Regions from separate parts of the Homo sapiens genome. Here region 1 is linked to region 2. Evidence: promoter capture Hi-C in human tissues and cell types (Jung and others, 2019). All regions are on one chromosome and are shown on one strand. Each heading gives the region's core, a stretch centred on a gene start or on the middle of the fragment in contact. The rest is flanking DNA. Distances are from core to core; before and after follow the strand shown.

Region 1 (5,502 bases), core at 2,348-4,847, 260 kb before region 2:
TGCTTTCTCTTGTGGGCATTTAGTGCTATAAATTTCCCTCTACACACTGCTTTGAATGTGTCCTAGAGATTCTGGTATGTTGTGTCTTTGTTCTTGTTGGTTTCAAAGAACATCTTTATTTCTGCCTTCACTTTGTTATGTACCCAGTAGTCATTCAGGAGCAGGTTGTTCAGTTTCCATGTAGTTGAACGGTTTTGAGTGAGTTTCTTAATCCTGAGTTCTAGTTTGATTGCACTGTGGTCTGAGAGACATTTTGTTATAATTTCTGTTCTTTTACATTTGCTGAGGAGTGCTTTACTTCCAACTATGTGGTCAATATTGAAATAAGTGTGGTGTGATGCTGAGAAGAATGTATATTCTGTTGATTTGGGGTGGAGAGTTCTGTAGATGTCTATTAGGTCTGCTTGGTGCAGAGCTAAGTTCAATTCCTGGATATCCTTGTTAACTTTGTCTTGTTGATCTGTCTAATGTTGACAGTAGGGTGTTAAAGTCTCCCATTATTATTGTGTGGGAGTCTAAGTCTCTTTCTAGGTCTCTAAGGACTTGCTTTATTCATCTGGGTGCTCCTGTATTGGGTGCATATATATTTAGGATAGTTAGCTCTTCTTGTGAATTGATCCCTTTACCATGATGTAATGGCCTTCTTTGTCTCTTTTGATCTTTGTTGGTTTAAAGTCTGTTTTATCAGAGAGTAGGATTGCAACCCCTGCCTTTTTTTGTTTTCCATTTGCTTGGTAGATCTTCCTCTATCCCTTTATTTTGAGCCTATGTGTGTCTCCGTGCATGAGATGGGTTTCCTGAATACAGCACACTGATGGGTCTTGACTCTTTATCCAATTTGCCAGTCTGTGTCTTTTAATTGGAGCATTTAGCCCATTTACATTTAAGGTTAATATTGTTATGTGTGAATTTGATCCTGTCATTATGATGTTAGCTGGTTATTTTGCTTGTTAGTTGATGCAGTTTCTTCCTAGCCTCGATGGTCTTTACAATTTGGCATGTTTTTGCAGTGGCTGGTATCGGTTGTTCCTTTCCATGTTTAGTGCTTCCTTCAGGAGCTCTTTTAAGACAGGCCTGGTGGTGACAAAATCTCTCAGCATTTGCTTGTCTGTAAAGTATTTTATTTCTCCTTCACTTATGAAGCTTAGTTTGGCTGGATATGAAATTCTGGGTTGAAAATTCTTTTCTTTAAGAATGTTGAATATTGGCCCCCATTATCTTCTGGCTTGTAGAGTTTCTGCCAAGAGATCTGCTGTTAGTCTGATGGGCTTCCCTTCGTGGGTAACCCGACCTTTCTCTCTGGCTGCCCTTAACATTTTTTCCTTCATTTCAACTTTGGTGAATCTGACAATTATGTGTCTTGGAGTTGCTCTTCTCGAGGAGTATCTTTGTGGCGTTCTCTGTATTTCCTGAATCTGAATGTTGGCCTGCCTTGCTAGATTGGAGAAGTTCTCCTGTATAATATCCTGCAGAGTGTTTTCCAACTTGGTTCCATTCTCCCTGTCACTTTCAGTTACACCAATCAGACGTAGATTTGGTCTTTTCACATAGTCCCATATTTCTTGGAGGCTTTGTTTCTTTTTATCCTTTTTTTCTCTAAATTTCTCTTCTCACTTCATTTCATTCATTTGATCTTCCATCACTGATACCCTTAGCATTTTTTCAATGTTATTTTATTGTAAATGTAATAATGACTTCAGGCAGTGATTATTGATGGGTGTTAACATCACACACACGCAAAAATGACTGCCAGAAATTTGTTTCCTAATGGAGTATACAAACTGCTTATGAAATGGTCTTACCAAAGAGTCAGATTTGAATTGGATTAAGTCTGTAGATTTAAGGATCAGTTTTCTAAAAATACAGAATACAGAGGTGCATGTTAGATGACAACAGAGGAAAGTAGTCAGCAAAATCTGGGCTGTGAGAATTATACAGGAGAGACAACTAGGGTACATGTGCACAACATGCAGGTTTGTTACATATGTATACATGTGCCGTGTTGGTGTGCTGCACCGATTAACTCATCATTTACATTAGGTATGTCTCCTAATGCTATCCCTCCCCCCTACCCCCACCCCACGACAGGCCCTGGTGTGTGATGTTCCCCTTCCTGTGTCCAAGTGTTCTCATTCTTCAGTTCCCACCTATGAGTGAGAACATGTGGTGTTTGGTTTTTTGTCCTTGGCGATAGTTTGCTGAGAATGATGGTTTCCAGTTTCATCCATGTCCCTACAAAGGACGTGAACTCATCCCTTTTTATGGCTGCATAGTATTCCATGGTGTATATGTGCCACATTTTCTTAATCCAGTCTATCATTGATAGACATTTGGGTTGAAGAGAGACAACTTTTTTCAACAAAAAGATTGCAAGGAAGAAAAAGATGGAGAACAAAACCATAGAAAAAAGAGACTTTAGAGATATATCAAGCAGTTGTGCTATATAGACCTTATTTAGATCCTGCGTCTTACTGTACAAAAAAAATGATGAGATGATCATGGAAACTGTATAGTATTTTAGTTTTATCATGCATTAGAAAGTACTTGCAGGTTAGGTGGAAAGTTAACCACTGGGGTGCCTGTACTGCCATAATAATGTCGTATTAAGATTTTTATTTTTTCAGTGCCTTATGTAGACATTGAATACAGGAAGATTTATGGTTCAGGTTTATGGACTATACTTTTTATGTCCTTTAAGGTAACATTTGAATTTTTGGGACCTTCACTTAGTTGAAAGGCCTTCACATGAGTAAGAACTATTAAATGAGCATTTAGCTATTGGACATAAGAATTATTGTGAAAACAATTTATTTTTTACAAATCTTTATTAAGCTTTGCTGTAGTTTTCAGCCCACTGTTGGAAGGAACGAGAGAATACTTTCTCAGAGATGTTCAAAGAGAAGATGTTTAGAGGGAATTATTTTTATACATTAAGATGGTTGTAAGTGAGAATTCTCTAAGGACTCATGATCTAGACCCTATAGCATCACATGGTAATGTTGGACTGTGAGTTCTTGAATGGCAAGAACAATCTCTTGATCTTTATTCTTAGGTTTAAGCATCTATATAGTTAGTGCTTAGTAAGTATTGAATTACCGAGTGACTTATGGACTATCATAATAAATTTAGTTCTCATAATTAGGGGATGAGAGGATGAAACATTCTAGGAGGTCTGCCATAGGTCTTTGTTAAACCATGTTTCACCTTGTTGAACTTGTTTTTCATGAATGTAAGTTTTGCTTAGTCATTTAATTGTGTAGTCTCAAGGAGTATTTTTAACAACTTGGGTTTTTTTTGTTTTTTGTGTTTTTTTTGAGATGGAGTCTTGCTCTGTTGTCCAGGCTGGAGAGTGGTGTGATCTTGGACTTGGTTTTAAGTTAAAGAAAAAACCTGAAGTATATGGATAAGAATTGGACAGGAATATGAAAAAATATAGAAATTTATTTTTGTGTGGTAGGGATTCTGGGTTTTAAATTTTTAAGTTTCTATTTTTTGTGGTAGTATATTTACATTAATTATGATAAAAGGAAAATATGGGGTTACATTGCCATCATTAATCAATCTATTTCACAGAGCCCTTGAACACTTAAATGTTTGCTTATGCATTCACTTATTCATTCAACAAGCATTTCTTTAGCACTTAAAACCTGCCAGAGATAATCAGAGATTCATTAGACTGGCAAGTGCCATGTTATAAAGATAAAGATCAATAAATATGGTAATTCTTAGAGTTCATGATTCTAAGAAGCATATTTTTTTCTATTTTGACATCTCTAAAATTTGGACACATCATATAATTGTGTGTTTCAATTGTAATTGGCAGTATGTTTTCCTTAATGGTAAATAAAATAAGAGTGTCTTACAATTGATGTCTTAGATTTGATGAAATACGGTACATTTCTAAACAATCATAAAGTTTTAAGATCTCAAAGCAAGAACCACATGTAAGGTGTCTTCACATTTCCCTAACTCCTAGCACGGAATCACACTGAATACATTTTTTGCTAATCGGTAAAGAAACATTTCTCTCAAAATCTTATCTTTAGGCTTAAGTTTTTGCTTTCTGTTACTTTAGAATGTTTTTAAAAATTAGTATGTAAAATGTTATCTGGCAATATTACTATTCTTCCATTGGATAGAATAGCTTAAACTTTATTGACATTTTAATCCTTTTTTTATTTTATAGTTCATTACTTCTTTTCAGCAGTTACACTATACCTTACAATTAGGAATTCTTGGGTTGTATTTCCATTTCTGATTTGGAGATGGTTGAAGTGTATGCTTGACTGACTAGGATTTAGTTTAAGATAAACTGATAAAGTATAGCTAGTTTTTTGTTATCCATCATAATAGGATGGGTAATTGTAATTTGTGAATGATATCTCAACCCTTTATTAGTTTTTTTATGACAGGTACTAATATGTGTCAAAGTTATACTGGTTTGTATTTTAAAGCTTAATGTTTCCTCTTTAGGGGAGGTAGTAATAAATACTGAAATGGCAAAAAAAAAAAAAAAATGGTAGCAATAGAATATATATAAGAATAGAAGGCCTGAATAATCTACCAACCAGGTAATTGACCTTGCAGCAATAAAAAATTGACTGTGATTTCATGCATTACTATTGAGCCTTATTTAGATTTAACTTTTGTTCCCTACTGATTGAATTAAAGTTTGAGGTTAAATGCTCTATATCCCATTTCTAAACTCTCAGCTGTTCTCAGTCATCTCTCATTGTGAACTCATGAAAGTCAAACATGATAAAACAATCATAAGAAGTTAAAAATTAGGGTTAGAAAAAAAGTATGTATTTTAAACTTGCTGTCTTCTAAATGCAATTTTAAGTTTAAAGAATCAATAGAAATTGATGTTTTATACCAAAGAACACTTAAGACCTTGAGTCCTGCCCTCCCCACCATCACTATACAAATAAAAAGAAATCAATAGGCCCAGAAACATAAGCTGCTAAAGATTTATTTCCAGCAACTATTTTTGATATTCAAGGTACTATTTACTAATCTGATTGAGAAAATGTAGATAATTAAGCATAGGAAATCTATTTTTATTTTAAAAATGATCATTTTCTTTTTAATCTCCGGATCTTTTATATGTTACATTTTAAAATAAGAATAAATGATAGGCATGGATTTAAAAATAACTCTTTGTGATTTTTAGCTAGTTACCTAAATTTAACAGGTCCATTCTGTTAAAAAGATAGGTAGTTCTGTATTTAAAAATTATTAAAAGACTGTCAGACTGTATTTGATCAATTTCATGTCTCCTGAATAATCTTGGTTCTACCAGTAGTAGATGTACTCAAAGGATTTTGAAATAAGAACTGAGTATTGGAATTGTCTGAGCCAGTGAAGGCACTGAACTTTGAAACTGAAGATAAGAAATTTGAACATGAAACTCAGTTTGGAGTGTTAAGGAAAGTATTTCATGACTGAAATAGTGGGATTTTGTTATCTCATAAAGGGGTAAAAAATCCATTAGAACAGATG
Region 2 (6,299 bases), core at 1,760-4,259:
CCACTGTAAACAGGACCAAATGGTAAAGATTTTATTTTTCCACCTGTGTGCTTTGGAAAGGGGTGGGGCACCACCACGTGCCTAGCAACTATCTCAAACTCTTACGGCAAAAAAAGAATGCTTAGTCTACAAAAAAATGAATGTAAAGTTTTTATAAAATTATCTCAGCAACAAAAGGGCACAGAACATGTGAACTTTACGATTGAGAAAAGACAATACAACACCGAGTCACAGGCCTAAAAGGATACTATTAAATATATTAGGGCAGTTCTGTGATAATAATTCTGTAAGATTTGCATAAATAACTCTGGTCTCAAATTTCACTTCAAATATATACTTTCTGAGATCCACACAATGCAAAGTAGTGTTAAGTCAATGAACCAGGGGTTTCATTTCCAACATTCCCAGTAATGGGTTAGAGTGAATTAAGCTCTTATTTGGGAATCTTCTTGATAAAGCAAAATGAGTTAAACTCCTACCCAGGTCAAGCCTTTTAATACTTAAGCCAAGTAGCAATGAGATTAATACAAGTTTATACAAGCTGCTAATAATTGGGGCTCATTGTCCCTTCAGTTTTTACTTCATTTGGTCTCTAAGCAGCCTCTTGAGGGAAGTATTAAAAATGTACAGAATGGGTTCATTCAGTATTCTTTCTTCTACTGAACAAACATGGAGTAGCTAGAGTTGCCAAGTACTAAACTGAGATTATAGATATTCTAGAAAACAAAAATTCACAATTTCTCTGGAGCAACCAAAAAAAGTATCACAAAGTTCATGAGCTGTCACAATTTTGAACTACTGCTTCAGGTCTTCAACCGTCAGGCAAAAGGATGGTCTTTACTGATAATATCCCAACTTAATATTTTCACCAAATTTAACATTTTCATCCCTGAAAATTGCTCCTAAAGCTAACTTTGTGTGAACAGGGAGGGGGAGAGAGAGAGAGCTTGACAAAAGCAAAGTATAGCGTTCAGCACATGCCTCTGTAACGAATGGGCAACTGGTAGGTTTGTACTGTCATAAATCCTAGACTCTAGTCTTCAGACATGCTATGCTAAGATCACACTGTTAACATTCAATAGTTAGGAGAGAAAGCTTACTCCTGGCACATAGTAGGTGCTCAATAAACGATGTTTTTACTATAATGGTGATTATGATTACTGCCAGAGAAACACTGCAACCACAAGCAAACATCAGTCAAGCTTCATGTTAAACAATCAGATGCTGTTAAAAAAAAAATAGGTTCATTAAAAAACTTTTGGACTTCCAGATTGAAGCCAAAACATGTTATCCTTCTCCTCACTCCTCCACTGTGGGCTGCCTTCATCCAATGAAGACCAAGTTTTTAACTATTAAAAATACAAATGTGTCTTTGACAAATAATCCATGGAATGGTTCTTGGTAACCTATTGACCAGGTAAAGGCTGTGATTCTATCTGACATTAGGAGTATTTTTTTCTCTCTGTACAATAGGATATGCCATTGTTATCTTGTTTGCTGAAAGGAAAAAAGACCCAGTGCCCAGATTTACACAATGAAAAGCCTCTTGGATTTAACGGTACTTTGAGAACATACGGGAGGACACTATTTAAATAATTATTTTTCTTCTGTCTTTAAGAAATAAATATTTAGCGACTGCTTTAACCATCTAAACAATTTTTTCCACTTCCTCAAAATCCCACTCTCTGGGAAGATCAGTTGTATGTGCAGAATCATCCTCAGACAGCTGTACTGCACTGGAAACCACGTCCCCTCACGGTGGCTCTGCTGACACTCCGAACTCATGGCCCGGTTCTCTCAATTCTGTCTAGGATGCAGCCAACCCAGAGAAACGTTACAGTGACAAACAACAGGTTCCACTCTGCTCCGTTCCCACATCTCTTAAAACACGAACACTCATTCATTCACAAATCCCTACGCTCGGTTCCTGTGCTGAGACTCCAGCCTGGCTGGTAATCCCAGGTAAAAATCGGAATATGGGGCACTATCTATCCTGGTGCTGCAACTGCACCAGTCACCTACAAGGCACGCAAATCCAGCTCAGTGCTCAGATTTCATTCAACAGGACTGGCCACCGAATGCTCTCAATGGTCCCCACCCCTCTTCCTGCATAAACCAAGCCACAGCCTTCCTGCCCTCAAGGAGGAACAGGCCAGCCCACCTGCTTCCTTCTGCGCTCCCTTCCCCGCCCAGTCCCCCAGGACCAGCTAAGGACGCTTCCAGGACCCCTCCAGGGGCCTTTTTCTGACCACATTTCCTGGGCTCCCATCATCTCCACAAATGAAAAGTAAACTCCTCCTTAGTGACAACCTCTCCAAACCAACCGCCTCACGGTCACCCAACTCCGCCGGAGCCCCCTACCCGTGCGAGCCCCGCCGACGGGGCGGACGGCCCCCACGGCGTGTGCCAGCGCGGGGCATTTACCTTCACGCTGGTGTAGCAGGTCTGAGTCTCGGCCTCGGCGCTGCTGCAGCAGTGGCGCCTCCGGCCCCTGCTGGTGGTCGCGGCGGGGGCTGCGGAACCCGCGCTGCTACCGCTGCCCAGCTCGGTGCGGGCCCTGCGGACGCGGGCTACGCTGGGGGGTCCCGACGCGCGGCTCGGGGGGATGGCGTCGGCGGCGTCGGTCTGGACGAAGAGGCCGGGCAGGGGTGCCGCCGGGCCCTGCGACACGCTGGTGGTCTGGCGGGGCGAGCTGGACTCGTCCGAGTCCCGGCAGTAGATCACGCCGCTCTGCGAGACATGGATGCTGGGGGCGCAGCCCATCCCTCGGCCGGGCTCCCCCGCGCGCCCGCCCGCGCCCGCGGCCGCCGGGACCCAGCGCACCCGCTGCCACCTGCAGTGAGGGGGCGGCCGCGGCGGCGCCCGGACTGCGCGCCCCCCGGCCTGTGTGTCCGCCGCTCCGTCGGGCTGGCCGCGGTGCCCCCCGCCGAGCCTCCGGGGACCGCGCGCGTCACCCCAACTTTCCCTTTTGGGCCATCTTCCTCCCCGAGCGGGGGAGCGCGCATACACAGCGCCCCGCGCGCACCAGCGGCCGCCACCCTCCCCGCCGCGGCGCCCCAAACACGCTCCCCGCGCCTCCGCCTTCCCCTCCTCCCTCGGCGCGGCCCCCGCCGCCGCCCAGCTCGACCTCGCCGGGCTCCCGCACCCGCGGCCCTGGGCCAGGGCGCCCGCCCGCCTGCCCGCCTGCCTGCACCTTCTTTCCCCACTTTCGGTCTGCGCCCGTCCCCTCCCTCCCTCGCTCCCACCCTCCTTCCTCCTCAGGTGCCCCGGCTCCGCGGCCGCAGCCGCCCGGGCCCCACTGCGCCCCTCCGCCCCTCCCGCCGCTCCCGGAGCTCTCCCGACAGGGCAGAGCGTGCCCGCGGCTCGGCTCCGCCGCGGGGCCCCTGTGCGCGGCAGCTGGCACCGCGCCTCGGCGCCCTCCCCTCCTCCTCCGCTGTCCAGAGGCCTCGTCTCTTCTGCACTCATCCCGACGCCGCCCCCAGCGCCCCAGCCCCTCTTCCCCTGAAGGGCTGTGTAAGCCTCTCGCTTTTCACCAACACATTTTCACACATCCCAGAGCTAAACACCAGGAGGCCCCTCCCGAAATGGCAGGGGCCCTACAGCCCAGGCCCACCCACCGCATTTGCTTGCCTCTCAACACACCCGGGAAGTGATGGAGAGACCTCATGGTTCCGTCCTCTTCCCCCAGCCCCACCGCCTACTCCGAAGGCTGAGTTGGATGGTGACCCAGTCTTCAGAAGAAGCCCATTCCATGTCTACTCATCGTTTGGAAGTTTGTGCCAAGGGATGGGAGGCCCTGCGGAGGAAGGCACCCTTGAACACATACGTTCCCCTAAGATCCAAGGCAAGAACAGAAAGAAGCTGTCTGATGGTTCTTGGCTTTCTCCCCCATTTTCACCTCTTCCTTAGGTGTCACTAAATGTTCATGCTGGTTTCTATCCCGTCCAGCCGCCCATGTCAACTGCTGTTCCTCACACTCTGGGCTGGGCAGTCAACAAGGCCTTCCCTCATTCTCCTTGGTGAGGCATGCACAGACTGAGCTGTGCTGGAGGAGAGGAAGAATGCCTTTAGAAGGATGGCTGCTGTTCATCCTTCCCTTGTAAACTCTGAGTTACAGCTGCGAGACACCACTGCCCATTCAGTCACTGGTTCCCGCAGTAATTCCTGCCCGATTTTCACAATGGCACGGGGAGATAAATTAGATGGTCTAAGAAAGGATTTTATCTAGAGTTGCTTATACGGACAAGGGCAGTAACATAGAGGCTTAATGCAAGGCACAAAGAAGTATCCAATTTTAAGGTTTGTTTTTTGTTTTTTTTTCATTCTTATTTTCCTTTTTCTTCCTGGACCACTCTTGGATGTGACTGGATGAAGACTTCAAAAGACAGTTTCTAAATTTCATAGAGAAGCAAGATATCATTCCCAATCCCAAATTCAGTTATACAGGGAGAGTCTAACCTTATTCTTCTACCTTTGCTTCTCTTCTCAGTTTAGCTCTCTTTTTTTGATACAAAAAAACTCCATCTCCAGCTAACCTGGAAAAAGTCTATGCTGTATTTTTTAATGGACAGGCAAATTGCTCATAAAATTTCTGCACAGGTTGGGTCCTCCTAGAAGCAGATTCTGAGATGGTGTTTAGCAGGCAGAGGGAGGCTTTTTAGGAAGTGCTCTTGTAGTCAACATTTGTGGGAGGAAATAAAGGGAGGGAATGGAGGGAGGCAAGCTTGAGCAGAGGGAGAAATTGACCAAGCCTCAGGCATCCCTGCAGGGAGGATTCTGAAGGTGGGATGATGCTTCAGAGTTGTTCTGAGTTGGGGCTGGGTTCTGAGTTGTTCTGGTGGGCCTTTATACCCCAGCATGGACCAGTCTTTACATGCAGGCCACCTCAGCGACCTTGGGCAAGGTGGCTCTCTTCAGCTGAGGCACTGCCCCTAGGAGATGTCAGCTGAGCCAAGGGCTTTCTGCTGGCAGCACTCCCAGTAGCTGGAGGAGTAAGTCCTTTCCTGGCATCATAGCCTCCACCCACAGTTCCCTTCCAGGCTGCTGAGATCCATGTTTCCTTGTCCCATCCATGCCTGTAAGAACACCACATTAAATGGCTGAGACTGAGATATGGGGACAGTCATTCATTTAAAACTAAGCCTCATAGCAACCATCTGCTCTACTTCCAAAGGACAATTTAGGACCTGGGAAAACAACATCAGAGTTAAATTGCAAAAACACTAGTCTCTATACTAGTCCCTGATGTAACGTTCAAGTCAGGGTTTAATGATTCCTAAAGCTTACCTGTGATAATGCATATAGCATTTCAGTCATTACCTTTCATGGAGCTATCAATGACAGCCTTCACATACTGAAATTTACAGCCATGCATATTCTCATGACACATGTCTACTTTTTCAGAGTTTTCTCTAGGAATGCAATGAAACCACCCAGAAAAAAGCACCAGTCACTCACTGAGGCTTTGAAAGGCAAGAAGACTGTGATGAAACAGAAATTACAACCAATCTTCTGGTGGAGAACATTAGGAGCTGAATCATGAAGCTAGAAGTCACCCAGAAACAAATTTAGGTTGAACTTTCTACATTAAAAAATAAGAATAATTAAGCCTTGAAAGAGTAGGTGACCTCAAGGTAGCTAGTGAATAGGACTAGGCTGCTTTAGTGGGTTAACTGAACAGTTCATATTAGGACCAGTGACTTTCATTGACTGCAACTTCTTTGTTGGAATAGAAGATAGAAGGGGAAATGCACTAGGTATACAGTTTTCTTCCCATTCCCAGAGCAGACAGTAGCTCAAACACATCTTCAACTGCCAATTCTGGCTTAGTGAAAGAAAAAAATAATGTGTCCTTATAATCTCCACCAAGTGTTCTCAGTGGGAATGTGCAACCTGCCCCCATTGCTGGAACAGATCTGGCTGCTGAAACTTGCAGAAGTGTGCAAGTGGAGGGGAAATGGTTTAACTGAAATCATTTCCACAGCTTAGTTCTGAAGCCTGAGTTCTGACCCACAGAAGAGATTTCTGAACCAATTGCCACTGACCACTTCAATGCATCCCAGGTGACAGCAAAGACTACAAGCTCAGACACTGTTGATAAAAATTAGGCCTAAGTTACAGAATAAGGCCAGAAAGACCAACATTATTAAAAAAATAATTAAGTGGAGAAAAATTTAGCAACAGAAAATATCCAAGAAGCAAATCAAAAGAAAGTAAACTAAATCAGAAACATATTGTAAAACAAAACCTCCAATATGTCCAGGGTCACCTGAATGGCTTGTGTGTTTTATAATAGTATT

What was found. Contacts are between HindIII fragments. The study calls those that stand out against the background at their distance.
Region 1: a contact is called between a fragment that was not itself captured here and the fragment with the promoter of PDE8B in region 2, in 3 of the 25 tissues and cell types used here (aorta, dorsolateral prefrontal cortex and heart right ventricle).

Annotation. Positions count from the first base shown.
Region 1 is chr5:77,465,822-77,471,323 of GRCh38, reverse strand. All of the region lies in intron 2 of WDR41 (WD repeat domain 41), which reads left to right. Among named protein-coding and RNA genes, the nearest start is that of WDR41, 24 kb to the left of the region's middle. The HindIII fragment of the contact is 3,217 bases long and covers 1,989-5,205 here.
Region 2 is chr5:77,207,390-77,213,688 of GRCh38, reverse strand. It overlaps PDE8B (phosphodiesterase 8B), which reads right to left and starts at 3,009. Exons shown (of 22, transcript NM_003719.5): 1 at 2,425-3,009. The coding sequence starts at 2,763. The HindIII fragment of the contact is 4,534 bases long and covers 469-5,002 here.